Linked DNA regions of Homo sapiens: regions 1 and 2 are each linked to region 3. Evidence: promoter capture Hi-C in human tissues and cell types (Jung and others, 2019). All regions are on one chromosome and are shown on one strand. The core of a region is centred on a gene start or on the middle of the fragment in contact, and the rest is flanking DNA. Distances in the headings are between cores, read along the strand shown. Region 1 overlaps HECW2 (HECT, C2 and WW domain containing E3 ubiquitin protein ligase 2). Region 2 holds the start of LOC105373821 (a long non-coding RNA gene). Region 3 holds the start of HECW2 (HECT, C2 and WW domain containing E3 ubiquitin protein ligase 2).

The links. Contacts are between HindIII fragments. The study calls those that stand out against the background at their distance.
Region 1: a contact is called between a fragment that was not itself captured here and the fragment with the promoter of HECW2 in region 3, in 1 of the 25 tissues and cell types used here (dorsolateral prefrontal cortex).
Region 2: a contact is called between a fragment that was not itself captured here and the fragment with the promoter of HECW2 in region 3, in 1 of the 25 tissues and cell types used here (bladder).

Annotation. Positions count from the first base shown.
Region 1 is chr2:196,421,123-196,425,873 of GRCh38, reverse strand. All of the region lies in intron 2 of HECW2 (HECT, C2 and WW domain containing E3 ubiquitin protein ligase 2), which reads left to right. Among named protein-coding and RNA genes, the nearest start is that of HECW2-AS1, 160 kb to the right of the region's middle. The HindIII fragment of the contact is 4,313 bases long and covers 1-4,289 here.
Region 2 is chr2:196,456,630-196,461,388 of GRCh38, reverse strand. All of the region lies in intron 1 of HECW2 (HECT, C2 and WW domain containing E3 ubiquitin protein ligase 2), which reads left to right. LOC105373821 (a long non-coding RNA gene) reads right to left here and starts at 4,128. Exons shown (of 5, transcript XR_007087827.1): 1 at 4,042-4,128. The HindIII fragment of the contact is 4,797 bases long and covers 1-4,611 here.
Region 3 is chr2:196,591,369-196,595,915 of GRCh38, reverse strand. It overlaps HECW2 (HECT, C2 and WW domain containing E3 ubiquitin protein ligase 2), which reads left to right and starts at 2,362. Exons shown (of 29, transcript NM_001348768.2): 1 at 2,362-2,408. RefSeq lists silencers at 2,404-2,673, 2,754-3,133. The HindIII fragment of the contact is 8,801 bases long and covers 1-4,547 here.

The sequences.
Region 1 (4,751 bases), core at 884-3,383, 170 kb after region 3:
TTTTTTCAAAATTGGAGTCAATCTTTTCAAACCCTGCTGCTAGTTTTTCAACTCAGTTTATGGAATATTCTAATTTTTTTTGTTGTTGTAATTTTAACAATGTTCACAGCTTCTTTATCAGGAGTAGATTTTATCTCAGGAAACCACTTTCTTTACTCACCCATAAGAAGGAACTCCTTATCCATTCAAGTTTTATCATAAGATTGGAGCAACTCAGTTACATCTTCAGGCACCACTTCTAATTCTAGTTCTCTTGCTATTTCTACCACATTTACAGTGACTTCCATCACTGAAGTCTTGAACCCTTCAAAGTCATCCATGAGGGTTGGAATCAACTTCTTCCAGACTCCTGTCAATGGTGATATTTTAGTCTACCCCATGAATTGTGAATGGCATCTAGAATGGTGAATCCCTTCCAGAAGGTTTTTAATTTACTTTGCCCAGATTCATCAGAGAAATTCCTATCTATGGCAGCTATAGCCTTAAGAAATGTATTGCTTAAATAATAAGACTTGAAATTCAAAATTACTCCTTGGCCCATGGGCTACAGAATGAGTGTTGTGTTAGCAGGCATGAAAACAACATTAATTTCCTTGTAAATCTTCATCAGACCTCTTAGGTGACTTGTCGCAGTTTTTTTTTTTTTTTCCAAGCAGTATGTCTCAATAGTGGCCTTAAAATATTCAGCAAAATATTCCGTAAAAATATTCAGTAAATCTAAATGACAGATGTGCTGTCATTTTGGCTTTGTTGTTCCATTTCTAGAGTGCCAACAGAGTGGCTTTAGTATAATTCTTAAGGGCTCTAGGATTTCTGGAATGGTAAATGAGCATTGGCTTCAACTTAAAGTCACCAGCTGTATGAGCCCCTAACAAGAGAGTCAATCTGTTCTTTAAGCTTTAAAGCCAGACATTGACATCTCCTCTAGCTATGGAAGTCCTAGATGGCATCTTCTTCCAATAGAAGGCTGTTTTGCCCACATTGAAAATCATTTGTTTAGTGTAGCCACCTTAATCAATGATCTTAGCTAGATCTTCTGGATAACTTACTGCAACTTCTACATCAACACTTGCTGTTTTACTTTGTACTTTTATGCTATAGAGATGGCTTCTTTCCTTAAACTTATGAATCAACCTTTCCTAGCTTCCAGCTTTTCTTCTGCAGCTTCCTTACCTCTCTCAGCCTTCATAGAATTGAATAGGGTTAGGGTCTTGCTCTGGATTAGGCTTGGTTTAAGAGAATATTTTGACTATTTTGATCTTCTCTCCAGACTCCTATAATTTTCTCCATATCAATAATAAGGCTGTTTCACTTTCTTATCATTCGTATGTACTTTGGAATAGCATTTTAAATTTCCTTCAAGAACGTTTCCTTTGCTTTTACAACTTGGCTAACTGTTCGAAGCAAGAGGCCTAGCTTTTGGCCTGTCTCAATTTTTGAGATGCCTTCCTCTCTAAGTTTAATCACTTTTAACTTTTGATTTAAAGTGAGAGATGTGTGACTTTTCCTTTCATTTAAATACTTAGAGGCCATTGTAGGGTTATTAATTGGCCTAATTTCAATATTGTTGTGTCTCAGGAGTTAGGACAGCTGAAGAGAGGGAGAAAGAGGATCGTTGGGTCAGTGGAACAGTCAGAACACACACAATATTCATTGATTAAGTTTATAGTCTTGGGCACAGTTCATGGTGCCTCAAAACAATTACAATAATATCATCAAAAGACCACTGATCAGAGATCATCACGACAGGCATAATAATAATGAAAAAGCTTGAAATATTGCAATAAATAGCAAAATGTGACACAGAGACATGAAGTGAGCATATGCTGTTGGAAAAGAAATGGCACCAACAGACTTGCTCAATGTGGGGTTTCCACACACCTTCTATTTGTAAAAAAAACACATTATCTGTGAAGTGCAATAAAGCAAAGCATCATAAAAAGAGTTTTCTATGTAGGCTTCTCAAAAAATTAAAAATATAAATACTATATGACCCAGCAATCCCACTTATGGGTATACATATCCAAAGGAAATGAAGTCAGCATACAGAAGAGATATCTGGATTCCCATGTTTATTGCAGCACTATTTATAATAGCCAAGATATGCAGTCAACCTAAGTGTCCATCAGTGGATGAATGGATAAGAAAAATGTGATAAACACACACACACACACACACACACACACACAATGGAATACTATACATTCATTAAAAAAGAAGGAAACCCTCTCATTTGTGACAACATAGATGAACCTGGAGGTGAAGTGAAATAACTCATTTGATTAAAACAAAACATGCTCTCTACCCTGACAATGTTCTAAGCAATAGTGTTAGAGAAAGGTTTGCGTTGTTAGGTATATTTCTTTCTGACATGCATTAACTGTTAAGGAATAACTTTTGTCAATGAACTACCCAGGACCGTCACAGCAGCACACTTTGAGAAGCTCTGACGTTATCAATTGTTGAGATCACAGGCGCTATAGTTAGACACATTAGTAAATTCAGTGAATGACTAGCTGAATGACCATGGGCAGATAATTTAACTTTTTAAACCTGAATTTCTCCATTTTTAAAAAAATGACTTAAACCACCAATATTATGAGAATTAAATGAGATATTGCATATAAAATGCTCGGCACAGTGCTTGGGCAGATTGTAAGGTTATTATTATAAACTATCATTAATATTTTGGTAATTATTAATAATAATAAAATCATTTTACTGGTAGCCTGAAGCTGCAGCTCAAACTTACCCACTGAATGAATTCCCAAGAAGGGATTTCCAGTTTAAAGTGACACAATGGGCCACTTCTACCTAAGGAAAACAAAATTCATTTATTTGAAGCAGAGCTCTAGAAATTATATAAGCACTTAAAATGTGAATGCTAAATAATACAGTATTTTAATTTGAGTATTATTTAGGTTCTAAATCAACATGCTTTACAAGGTGATGGGAAATCCACAATTTAATCTGAAATTCAATCAAATGGAACAAATAATGCATTAGGTTTTTCATCTTCAGAATAGCTATCAAATATAGTTAAGAGTGCCCGATCCTAAGTTCTTTTGATATTTTATCATGATTCCTGGTGAAGAAAAGTTGTTTTAGGTCATATTTTTAAAATTTTAAAATGCTCTTAGAAAGTAAGAGCTTTGAACATGTAATTGTTTTTTGGAACAACTTAACTCTAAATTCTTTTCACCTAGTCAGATTATGCTGCAATAATTTACTAACCCTAAATCCTCAGGGCTTAACAGAACAAAGGATTATTTATTGCTAATGCTGCATGTCTCGTGTGGGTTGGCAGGGGGCTTGATTCATACTGTCACTTAGGGACTCAGGCTCATCACCTTCTTTATTTTTTCCATATTAGATTATTAAAGGCTCAACCATTTTATCATTATGCCATCTGGACACATGACCTCTTTGGGCAAGTGTCAGGGGAAGAGAGAGCTGGAAACTCTTATGCTAGCTCTTAAATACTTAGACACCAAAGCCACACATTTCACTTCGGCTCAGAGCTCATTGTTCAGCATTGGTAGCAAAATTTTGTCTAACTGCAAGGGGACTGGGAAATGCATAGAAGCCTTTGGCTATTCAGTGAGCAATCAGTGTCTCTCCCATAGTAGAATGTCTTGCTAACAATGTGTCTGGTCCTCCAGTCTGTTTCAAAGCTTAAGGCATCCTTGTATGGTCACTGCAAGAATAGATACTAGGGGTTAGAAAGTCTCATACTTTGGAATACACTTTGCAAGGTGTTCAGAGACTGAATGAGCAGGCATACCCAGGGCAGTACCAAGGACAGTGCATGACCATTATAGATGAAAAATAGCTTAGTGGAATCTGAATTCACAGGATCACCTTGGTATCTCAGACTATCACGGATCTTCCTTTTAATATGCGTGTGGAAGATTTGGTCCACAGAGGAGTCCACATGTTCAAAATGGTTATGAAAGACTCCCCTGGATATTAGATGGGTTTTCGAAAATTGCATAGGTTGGTGTAGCCAAAGAAGCTTTAGTGTATTTTATGCTTTAACATATTGACTGCAAGCGATACTTGATACAGGCATTCTTCTCTCCATAGATTGAGATGATTCTAGAAACATTACCCTTATTGTATTTTTATTGCCCCCCATGCTTATTTGTGTCACTTTTCCTTAAAGGAGACTCATATAGCCAAAATTAGTAAATGTTAAATAATTGTAAATATTTTGTGATTGAATTAAGATAGCTTTTGCATGCGGTTTAGAAATTCTTTGTTCTGATTGCAACCATTACTAACCCACAAAATAATTCCTTACTATACATACTGATTTTATCGTGTTTGTTATAATTAGCTTTTTATACTTTCTTAAGGACTAAATAGTGGACACACCTATAAAGTTACTTATAATGCAATTATTTTATCCTGCTATATTTCTTAAAGTCTGTTTTGTCTGTTATCAGTTGTCACATCAACTTCCTTTCAGTTAGTTTTTGCTTAGTGTATCTTTTCCCATCAATTTACTTTCAGCCATTCTTTGGCATGCTCTAGATTTATCTGCTGTAAATCATGTAAAGCTTTATGATTTTTAATCTAATTTAAGTGAGCATCTTTTAAAATTGGTACATGTAGAGTTTTTTACATCTGCTTTTACTTTTGATATGTTTGGACTTTTTACAACATCTTATTTATTTTCTGCATATCATGCTTTTTCTTAGTTTTTTCCCCCTATTTTTATACCCTCAATGGAAATGATGAGTTGTTTT
Region 2 (4,759 bases), core at 964-3,463, 130 kb after region 3:
AGTTGTTCTCTACCCTTGTGAGCATTCAGTATTGGCTGTCTTAAATTTTGGTCATCCTAGTAATGGGTGTGTAGTAGTATAGTATCTTATTGTGGTTTTTCAGTAGTTCCTTGTTCATTGTCTTCATGCCAGACTTTGGTTTGTAATGTAATTCTTCTGACATGTTTTTAATCTCTGTTGCTTCTTGCCTGCCTGCCTGCCTTTCTTTCTCCCTCCCTCCCTTTCTTCCTTCCTATCAGGCTGTGCACTTATCCATGTATGCTTTCTTTTTGTTATTACCCATCTTCAACTGAAGGCCATTTTATCTATTACAACTGTTTACTCAAGAATTGAATGGGGAGGAGACAGAGAGTGAGTTGGGCCAACATCATCATTAATTCAGGCATTTTATCTCAGAATATTTTCTCACGTAATTAATTTGATCCTGTGCTGTGCTGTGTCTCCATTTAGGAGTCTCTTTATTAGGCTGGAGATGGTGGCTCACACCTGTAATCCTAGTACTTTGGGAGTCCGAGGTAGGAGGATCACTTGAGGCCAGAAGTTTGATACCAGCCTGGGCAACATAGTGAGAGCCTATCTCTCCAAAAAAAAAAAAAAAAAAAAAAAAAAAAATTGCCAGGTGTGGTGATGCATGCTTGTAGTCCCAGTTACTTGGGAGGCTGAGGTGGGAGGATCATTTGAGCCCAGGAGGTTAAGGCTGCAGTGAGCCAGTTATGGCACCACTGTACTCCAGCCTGGGTGACAGACCAAGACCCTGTCTCACAAACAAAAACAAAACAAGACAAAAAACAATTGAGATTTTTCCCTGCCCTGGGAGAAAAGCAAAAAATTAGACAGAAATTATATGTTCTCTGCTCTTTAAAAGAAAAAGCTAAATGAATACATGCAAAAAAAAAAAAAAAGGTTTAATCGGTTTTGTTTTTGTATCCTCATTCAATTTGGTTCAATTTTTACTTCATTGGAAATTATTCCTCATGGCTTGTAGATGAGATGGCCTTCTAATTAGGGTGAATATTGAGTCTGTTCTTTTTTGAGTTCTTTTTATTTTGGTTGTCTTTAGGAGGAAAGTCGAATAAAAATGCCTCTCTTCTGTTAACTTCAATCAAAAGTCTTACTTGATATTTCTTAGAGTCTTTTAATTATGCCCATCCCCATAAACTGTTAGTGGCTCTAATGCATCAAGTCTGACTCCTTGGTTTTCTAGATTTTTTAATTCCAGCCTCATTGTCAGCTGAAGAATGATGAGGTTCATAAATTTGGAAAGGAGAGCTTTATTTTTCATAAAGGGTTGCAGCCTGCAGGGTAGCCATTCTGACAGACTGGGAAGCATAGCCTTCCATTGGAGACCAGAAACAAACAATTGGAGGGTGAGAAGAATAAGACAGGGATTCACACTGAAGGAGGTGGAGGAATATTCGTGTTCTGTAAGCAATAGGAGGAGTCATGTGTATTTAGGAAGGGAGAAACATGCGCATGCACAGCTGAGCCTCATCCTTCACCAGGGGACCCATGGTTTTTAACTATGGCGGCATTAGCATGATCCAGGGTGGAATTTTCGGATCTCTGACTTCAAAAGATGAAGCAGAGGATGCAAAACCCCTCCCTGCACATCCTCCGTGGACTGGCCAGAACCACTCTGTGGTCTGTGGTCTCTTATCAAGAAGGAATGCTGGTTGGTTATTTTGTTGAAAACCACAAAAAGGAGGGGCGGTTTCAGGAGGTTGATTGACATCAGGGGTGGAGTGGGGCTTTCCAAAGGGCTGGTTTCTGTTTAATCCTTACGGAGGAAATCCTAATGTTGGTTATGGAGGGAGGGGACATCATGAGGCACGTCTGACCTCCTGTCTGGTCATGGTTGGGAACTGAGTTTTCAAGGATTTCTGGGGTCCCCTTGGCTAACAGGGGGTCTGTTCAGTAGGTTGGGGGGGCTTAGGATTTCATCTTTATTTTTTACTGTATCTATACAACCTAATTTTTAAACCACTCTCCAGTACTCTCCTTTATACTCAAATACTCTAACCTGTACTTTTCCCCCCTTTAACTGTTTTCTTCTCCTCATGCTAAGGCTCATTGGAGTTTCTAAGCCCACTTCTGTATTTCTCATAGTCTACATCTCCCATCTCTCTTCAGCTAAGTCTTCTCAAGCTTTAAGACTCAGCTCAGTGTTACTGCCTCAAAGATGCCTTCCCTGTCTAATCTGATCCGAAGTGGTACTCCTTTTCTGGAAATTTCTCCATCACTTATGTGCAGAATTTAACATTTAATTATACGTATAGTCTTGTGGTGTTTCTTGTGCTGATTTGTTTGTTTGTTTTTTTAGCATTATCTCTCCCAGCTGGACTACTCAGAGAACTACTAGAGAACATGGACCAAATCATTCCTTATTCTGTAAATCCTGCAGTACCTAACATGGAACTGGACATATAATAAATCCTTAATAAACAACTAGTAGTTAATTAGTCATGTGAACATATGAGTTTTAGCCAGTGTGTTTACACTTATCTTTTTTGTTGTTGTTGTTGTTGAGACAGAGTCTTACTCTCTTGCCAGGCTGGAGTGTAGTAGTGCAATCTCGGCTCACTGCAACCTCCTCCTCCTGGGTTCAAGTCATTCTCCTGCCTCAGCCTGCTGAGTAGCTGGAACTACAGGTGCACACCACCACGCCCAGCTAATTTTTGTATTTTTAGTAGAGACGGGGTTTCACCATGTTGGCCATGATGGTCTCGATCTCTTGACCTCGTGATCCACCCGCCTCGGGCTCCCAAAGTGCTGGGATTACAGGTGTGAGCCACCACGCCCAGCCTACACTTGTCATCTTTATCATCTGGTTTCACAGTTTTCCATCTGGAGCTTTTTAGAGTCTTGTATGATTTGCCTCAGTACTAGTAATGCGAAGTCACATATTTTCATCCCCTTGGGGTGTGTGTATGTGTGTGTGTGTGTGTGTGTGTGAGTGAGTGAGAGGGAGAGAGAGAAACAGTTAAGATCCAGAGACTCCCAGCATTATGAGACCTTTCCTTTTCAGAGCCTGGATATTTCAGGTGTAGAATTTAATAGAATTGGTAGAGTGCACAGGAAAGAGATAGTTCCCAATATTTTACTTTTTTAATAATTCTTAGAGACAGGGTTTTGCTCTGTCACTTAGGGATGGAGTGCAGTGGCACAATCATGGCTCACTGCAGCCTTGACCTCCTGGGCTCAAGTGATCCTCCTGCCTCAGCCTCCTAAGTAGCTGAGACAATAGGCATGTGCTGCCACACCCAGCTAATTTTTTAATTTTTTGTAGAGATGGGGTCTCACTATGTTACCCAGGCTGGTCTCGAACTCCTGGGCTCAAGCAGTTCTCCCACCTCAGCCTCCCAAAGTGTTGGGATTACAGATGTGAGCCACTGTGTCCAGCCAGTTCCCAGTATTGTAGAGTATGGTGACTTTTAAGAATTGTGGCTATTATCCCTTTTGATTATTTGTTTAGATCAAATACCATAATGCTTTATTGATAAATACTTTGGCATATTTGGACATACTTCCTAAGTATAGCGTGCTTGTGTATATAATGCTTTTCAGGTTTTGTGTAGTAGCGGGTATGAGTATGCTCTGAGAAAAAGAAGAATAGAAGTGAAAGACCTGGTTATACTTATTTTTAAATGAATCACAGACTTACAAAATTTGTAGAGCTAAGAGGTATCTTGGAAATCATATAGTCCCGCTCCTTCATTTTTAGGGTCGGGAATATAAAGGACCAGTGTGGTTGACTTACATAAGGTCACAGTAGTAGTAAGGAATAGCACAGTACTGTGAATAGGCTGAGATAATCAATTTATATTATTTCTGGATTTTCTGACCCAGTTTGAGGAAAGTATTGTGTATTTGAGAAACTCACACATTCTTAAAAAGTAATTTTTTAAACAGCTTTTCAAAAGATCTTTCATATGCTAAAATATTGAACAACATGCTTGGAGTATAGTTAAGAGGTGACAGTACCATGTAGTGGGCAGGTAGTTAAGAAATCTACATCCTAATTCCAGCTCTGGTACTTACAACCTTGGAAAAAGTCGTCCAGAATGAAGAAAGTCAGTTTGTATTATTCAAAATGAATGGATCAGGCGAGATTCTCTCTGAGGGCCCTTTTAGTTCAAAAATTCTGTGTAAAAGTGAAGCAGTTGTAAGCCATTGAAACTTGATGTGATCAAAGCTTTATGACATCAGAGCAGAGACATATGTGTAGTATCTCTCCAAAACGTATCAGCAGCTCAACATATAGAATTTCATATCTTGATTCCATGCCGTACCTACTCATTAGGCACTGTTGATTCTTTCCAGATACTTTCTATTTCTTAGGCTTAATTTGGATGCTCCTTCTTTGCTTGAAGCTTGGTACAGGAATATGAATACCAGGAATAGATATATATGAAGCAATAAACTTATTTGATAGTCTTTTGGCTCTTCCAAATGAATAGTTCACACATGTGTTAGATGTGTTGGTGTATTAAAGAATGAAGAAAACCCGAGGTTGCTTAAATTTGTAGCATCTTTTACTGTAAGGTACTATAACTGCTCTGTGGGCTAGTTTTGTTGAATTGGTATGTTTTGCTTGATCAATTTCCCTTATTTGATATTCTGGAAAATCTGTAAAAAAGTAAATCCGGAGTTTCTTAGCCAGCCTTACTCTAATTCAAGGAAAGTGTCCCATAAGAGCAGTAAAAAAGAAGACCATCTGGACCCACTTCAGTGTCATTGTACCTTGTCCCCTATCACTGAT
Region 3 (4,547 bases), core at 1,113-3,612:
CTTGTGAAGGAGAGTGGTGGTGATGACGAACGGGGAGTGCAGTGTGAAAGAACCTACCTAATCTTTACACACCTTTGCAAGTTTGAGATTTTTAGGATGACTTTGCTATTAATGTTCTTTGATGCCTTAGTCTCGGTTTTAATGGTCGATATGTAGAAAGTTTTAAAGGTAGTAGGGGCTGCTTTTAAAGTGAGAGAAAAATGTTTTTTAAGACCTAGGGCAGCAATAGTGATTCACTTTGCCTCTATTCATTTTTAGGGTTCTTCTTTCTCCCTCCTTTCCTCCCTTCCTCCCTTCCTCCTCTTTTCTTTTCTTTCTTTTTCTGTTTTTCTTTTCTTTCTTTCTTTTTCCTCCTCCTCCTCCTTCTTCTTCCTCTTCCTCTTCTTTTTTGACAAGGTGACAGGGTCTTGCTCTGTCTTCAAGCTGGAGTGCAGTGGTGCAATCACAGCTCATTGCAGTCTTGAAATCCTGGGCTCAACTGATCTTCCTGCCTCAGCCTCCAGAGTAACTGCGATTACAGGTTCAGGCCACCATGCCTGGCTATTTTTATTTTTATTTCTTTCTTTATTTAATGTATTATACTTTAAGTTCTGGGATATATGTGCAGAACGTGGAGGTTTGTTACATAGGTATACACGTGCCATGGTGGTTTGCTGCACCCATCAACCCATCATCTACATTAGGTATTTCTCCTAATGAGATCCCTCCCCTAGCCCCACAACCCCCGATAGGCCCCTCCTCCCTGATGTGATGTTCTCCTCCCTGTGTTCATGTGTTCTCATTGTTCAGCTCCCACTTATGAGTGAGAAAACGCAGTGTTTGGTTTTCTGTTCCTGTGTTAGTGGGGTCTCACTATGTTGCCCAGATTGGTCTTAAACTCCTGGCTTCAAGAGATCCTCCTGCCTCAGGCATGATTACAGGTGTGAGCCACTGCACCTGGCCCATTTTGACTAGAATGTAACATAGTGGTTAATCAACACAAAGAAGCTAAGGATTGCAGGTGTGGGGTTGCTGGATTTGAGTAAGTTGTGAAGGAGAACATCATGTGGGAACAAACCTCTAGGATCCCTGTTCTTCCAGCAAGAACTGGAATTGGGCCTTTTGTGGGGTGGGGCTCTTTGATTCTGTGGAGGATCCTAACAGTGATGCCTGGGCTGATAGATCCAGGGGACTAAGAAGTCAGGGCTCCTCTGAGACATGTGACAAAACACAGCTGACACTGACTTGAAATAAAAGAGAGAGGATTTATTGGCTTCAAGGGTAGAGTTCACTGCAGACACATCTACCTCCTGAGGTTCCTGAGAGGGTGGGACATCACCCTCTCACCAGCAGCTTTTCTTCCCTCAAAGTTGGCTTCATTGGCATGCACTGTTGGTCCTTGTTACCGTAGGCTTATATCCTTCCAATTTAGTTATCCTAGTTTAAAGAGCTTATTTTTCTGCAGTAATACATCCAAAGCCCTAGGCCGAGTTCCTGGATCAACATGCCCAACCCAGAACCGATCACTGCGGTCCGGAAGATGACTGGCTAGTTCTGGGGGTTGAGGGTGGGAGGTGTCAGTACCCTGGAGCCACAAAGACTCATTGTGGGTGAGGGGGAAGGGCAGTTCCCATAGGAATAATGAACTGCTGTTACCAGAAAAGGCGGAGAAATGGATAATATTGAGCACACACTCAAAAGTCCCAAAGGAATGGCTATCCATTATTTGGGGACTTACTCCATATGGATATAGTTAAATTGTAAAATTGAATAAATCTTCCCTAAATCTGGACAGATGCAAGGGTGGGTGGGGAGGGACACAATATATTTACACTTTAGCATTTTTACTTTTTCTCCTACGTGGGACTGGTTGATGAAGATGCTATAGAAGTAAACAGAAAGCCGAAAGTATTAATACAGTAATTTTAAATTTTAGTGCCCTCTTTAGGCAAAGTATCTGGGAACGCTTTCAATAATCCATTTTTTCATCGTGACCACACCCTGTGTGTGCGACATGAGTATTACCGTCTTGCCCTTGCAGTTGGGGAAACCGAGGCATGACACTCCCCTATTCAGCTTTCTGGTGGGGTTGAGGAACAGTGTTGTCTGCACGACCTCAGAGGGTCTCCTCCACCCTCCGCGACACCTCTAGGAATCCTCCTGTCCTTCGACTTCGCAGAAGGAGAGCAACTCAGGCTCCGCCGCAGCCTCGGGACTCGTCCTCCGCCCAGCCGCACCCGCCCCGTTCTTCCGCACCTTCCTCAGGGAGGTCCCGCTGGCCAAGGTCTGGCTGTCCCTCCTGTCCTCTGCCCCCGCCTCCCTTCCACCGGTCCCCGACGTGCCGCCAGCTCCCAGCCCAGCGTCCCGCAGGGCGGTGCGGGCAGATGCCGCCGAAGCGTCTAGCGGGAAGGGCGCCGGCGCGGCTGGAGGTGAGGAGGCCGGACTCTTCGCTCTCCGCGGACCGGGGCACCGCGGCTGGAGCGGACGCCCGGCACCCGGGCGGGAGGAAGGTGGCGGCAGGGAGCGGCGAGAGGGTGGCGACGCAGGCGGGTCGGCGCCTGGAGAGCGAGCGGCGGGGAGCCGGGCGCTGCGGGGCCGCTCGGGGCCGCGCCGCGCTCGGCCACAAACCTCCCGGAGGCGCAGGACCCCCGGCGCCCTCCCGAGCGCGGGCGGGAGCCATGGCTTCGCGCGTCCCCGCTGCCGCTGCTGACTCGACACAATCGGCGGGTCGCGCGGGGGCCGTGGCGTAACCCGGGGGTGGGTGGCGGCGCGGAGCCGCCTCGAGAGCTCTGGGTGTCGCTGGGAGCTAGGAAGATGCCAGCACAAAGGCGAGCCGAGACCCAGCCCGCTGCGGAGGGCGGCGGGAAGAGCCGCTGAGGGGCGCGCCGAGCGCGCTCTGCCCCTGCGCCGCGTCTCTCCGGGCGCTTCTCGCGGTCTCGGGGTCGGGGACTGCAGCGCAGAGACTCTCGGCTCCGTGGCAGCGGCCGCAGCAGCCGTGAGCTGCATGCAACGCGCGGCGGCGCCCCCGGCCGCCTGCTTTCTCCTCGGCGCGCACGGACCGGCCGCAGGGCGCCGGGGCCGCGGGTCCGGGCGACTTTGGGGGCGCCCTCCCGCCCCGCGGCCGGGTCCCCACCCGCAGCTTGTGGCGACGGGCGCAAAGCCCAGGTGAGCGCGCGGCCCTCGCCGCAGGTAGCGGACGGCGGGAGGTGGCTTTGTTTTTCCTCCCTTGCGCCCCGGCGCGGTCATTCATTTGCCATTTCGGTTTCCGCTGCCCAGGATGTGTTGGATGGTTTGGTTCTCCAGGGAAACTGGGACTTTGGGGTCTATTTGAGCATCAGTTGAGGGAGAGGACGCTTCATTTCCTTTTTGGTTGGGAATGTGCCGTGAACATCCTCTGCTGGAGCTTGGGGCCTGGAGCAAACTGGGGCTGCAGATTTAGACGTAGACGTTTCCGAGGACGCGAGACTGCAGAGGTCTGACTCTCTCATGCCTTGTCTTCACTATTAGCAGCGCTCGGGTGCTTTTCGTCGTTTATTATTATTAATTTAGAGAACATCTTTACAGGCACATTTCTTTTAGAGTTAGAAGTCTTTGGAGTCAGTACAGAGAGCTCACAATTAGAGTTACAAGGGTTCAATCGATATTAAACTTCAGGAAGGAAAACATTTGTGATCATTACAGATAGAGGTGGACAGCATGCAAACTTCGGGGGCCTTTAGCTTTTGGGTTATGATTTCTGCTTTCACTGTCCTAGACTCACGCAAACTGTTTTCGTATATATATACCTTTGTGAAAGTGTGAAACTTGTCTTTTCTGGAGTAGTGTTCTATAGTTTGTCATTTAGAAGAAGAATATTTTAGTGTAATTAGTAGAGCTCTCCATGTGTTTGTCTTATAAATATGATTTTCTTTTTACTATTTCTCCTATTCCCTCGAGGGTTCATTTCTTCTGTTGCTTTGAGAGAGCTTTTTTTCTTTCTCTTCCCAACAGATGGCTGTATGTTCCAAGAGGTTATCTTTAAAATGACACACACATTATCTACAAAGAAAGAAAGATCAGTTATTGACTTTATCTTTGGAGTTATTAAAATAAAAGGCCTAATCTGGATGGGGATATTATTAATGGCGTGAAAATCTGGAGTTTGCTAATCTGTTTGGTCATCAGAAGATTCCTGCGGGGATTGTTTATATAGCGTGGGAGACAGATGGCATCCCTAGCAGACTAGAGAAGCCAGGCATAAAGGGTCATTGTATTCTTCAGAAATTATCCACTTCACTATTAGAGGTGGGGTAGGGTGGGGTGGAGGGTGGCAAAGACATTTTGATCTCTTAAAGGAGACACTGTAACGTTACTATCCAGCAGTCTAACCAGCTTTAATTTTTCTTTTTGTTGAACATTCAAAAAGTCCCAATTGAGCTATTTGTTTTGATTATTTCATTGGCACATTTTGGCTTCGATGTGGTTGTGTGAAGCAGTTTATTAACAAAAATGTCTTTGAACTTAAAAATAATCGTGCTGCTTCTGGGGGAAAATCAGTTGCACCTTTCTTAGCTCTTGTATATAAATGG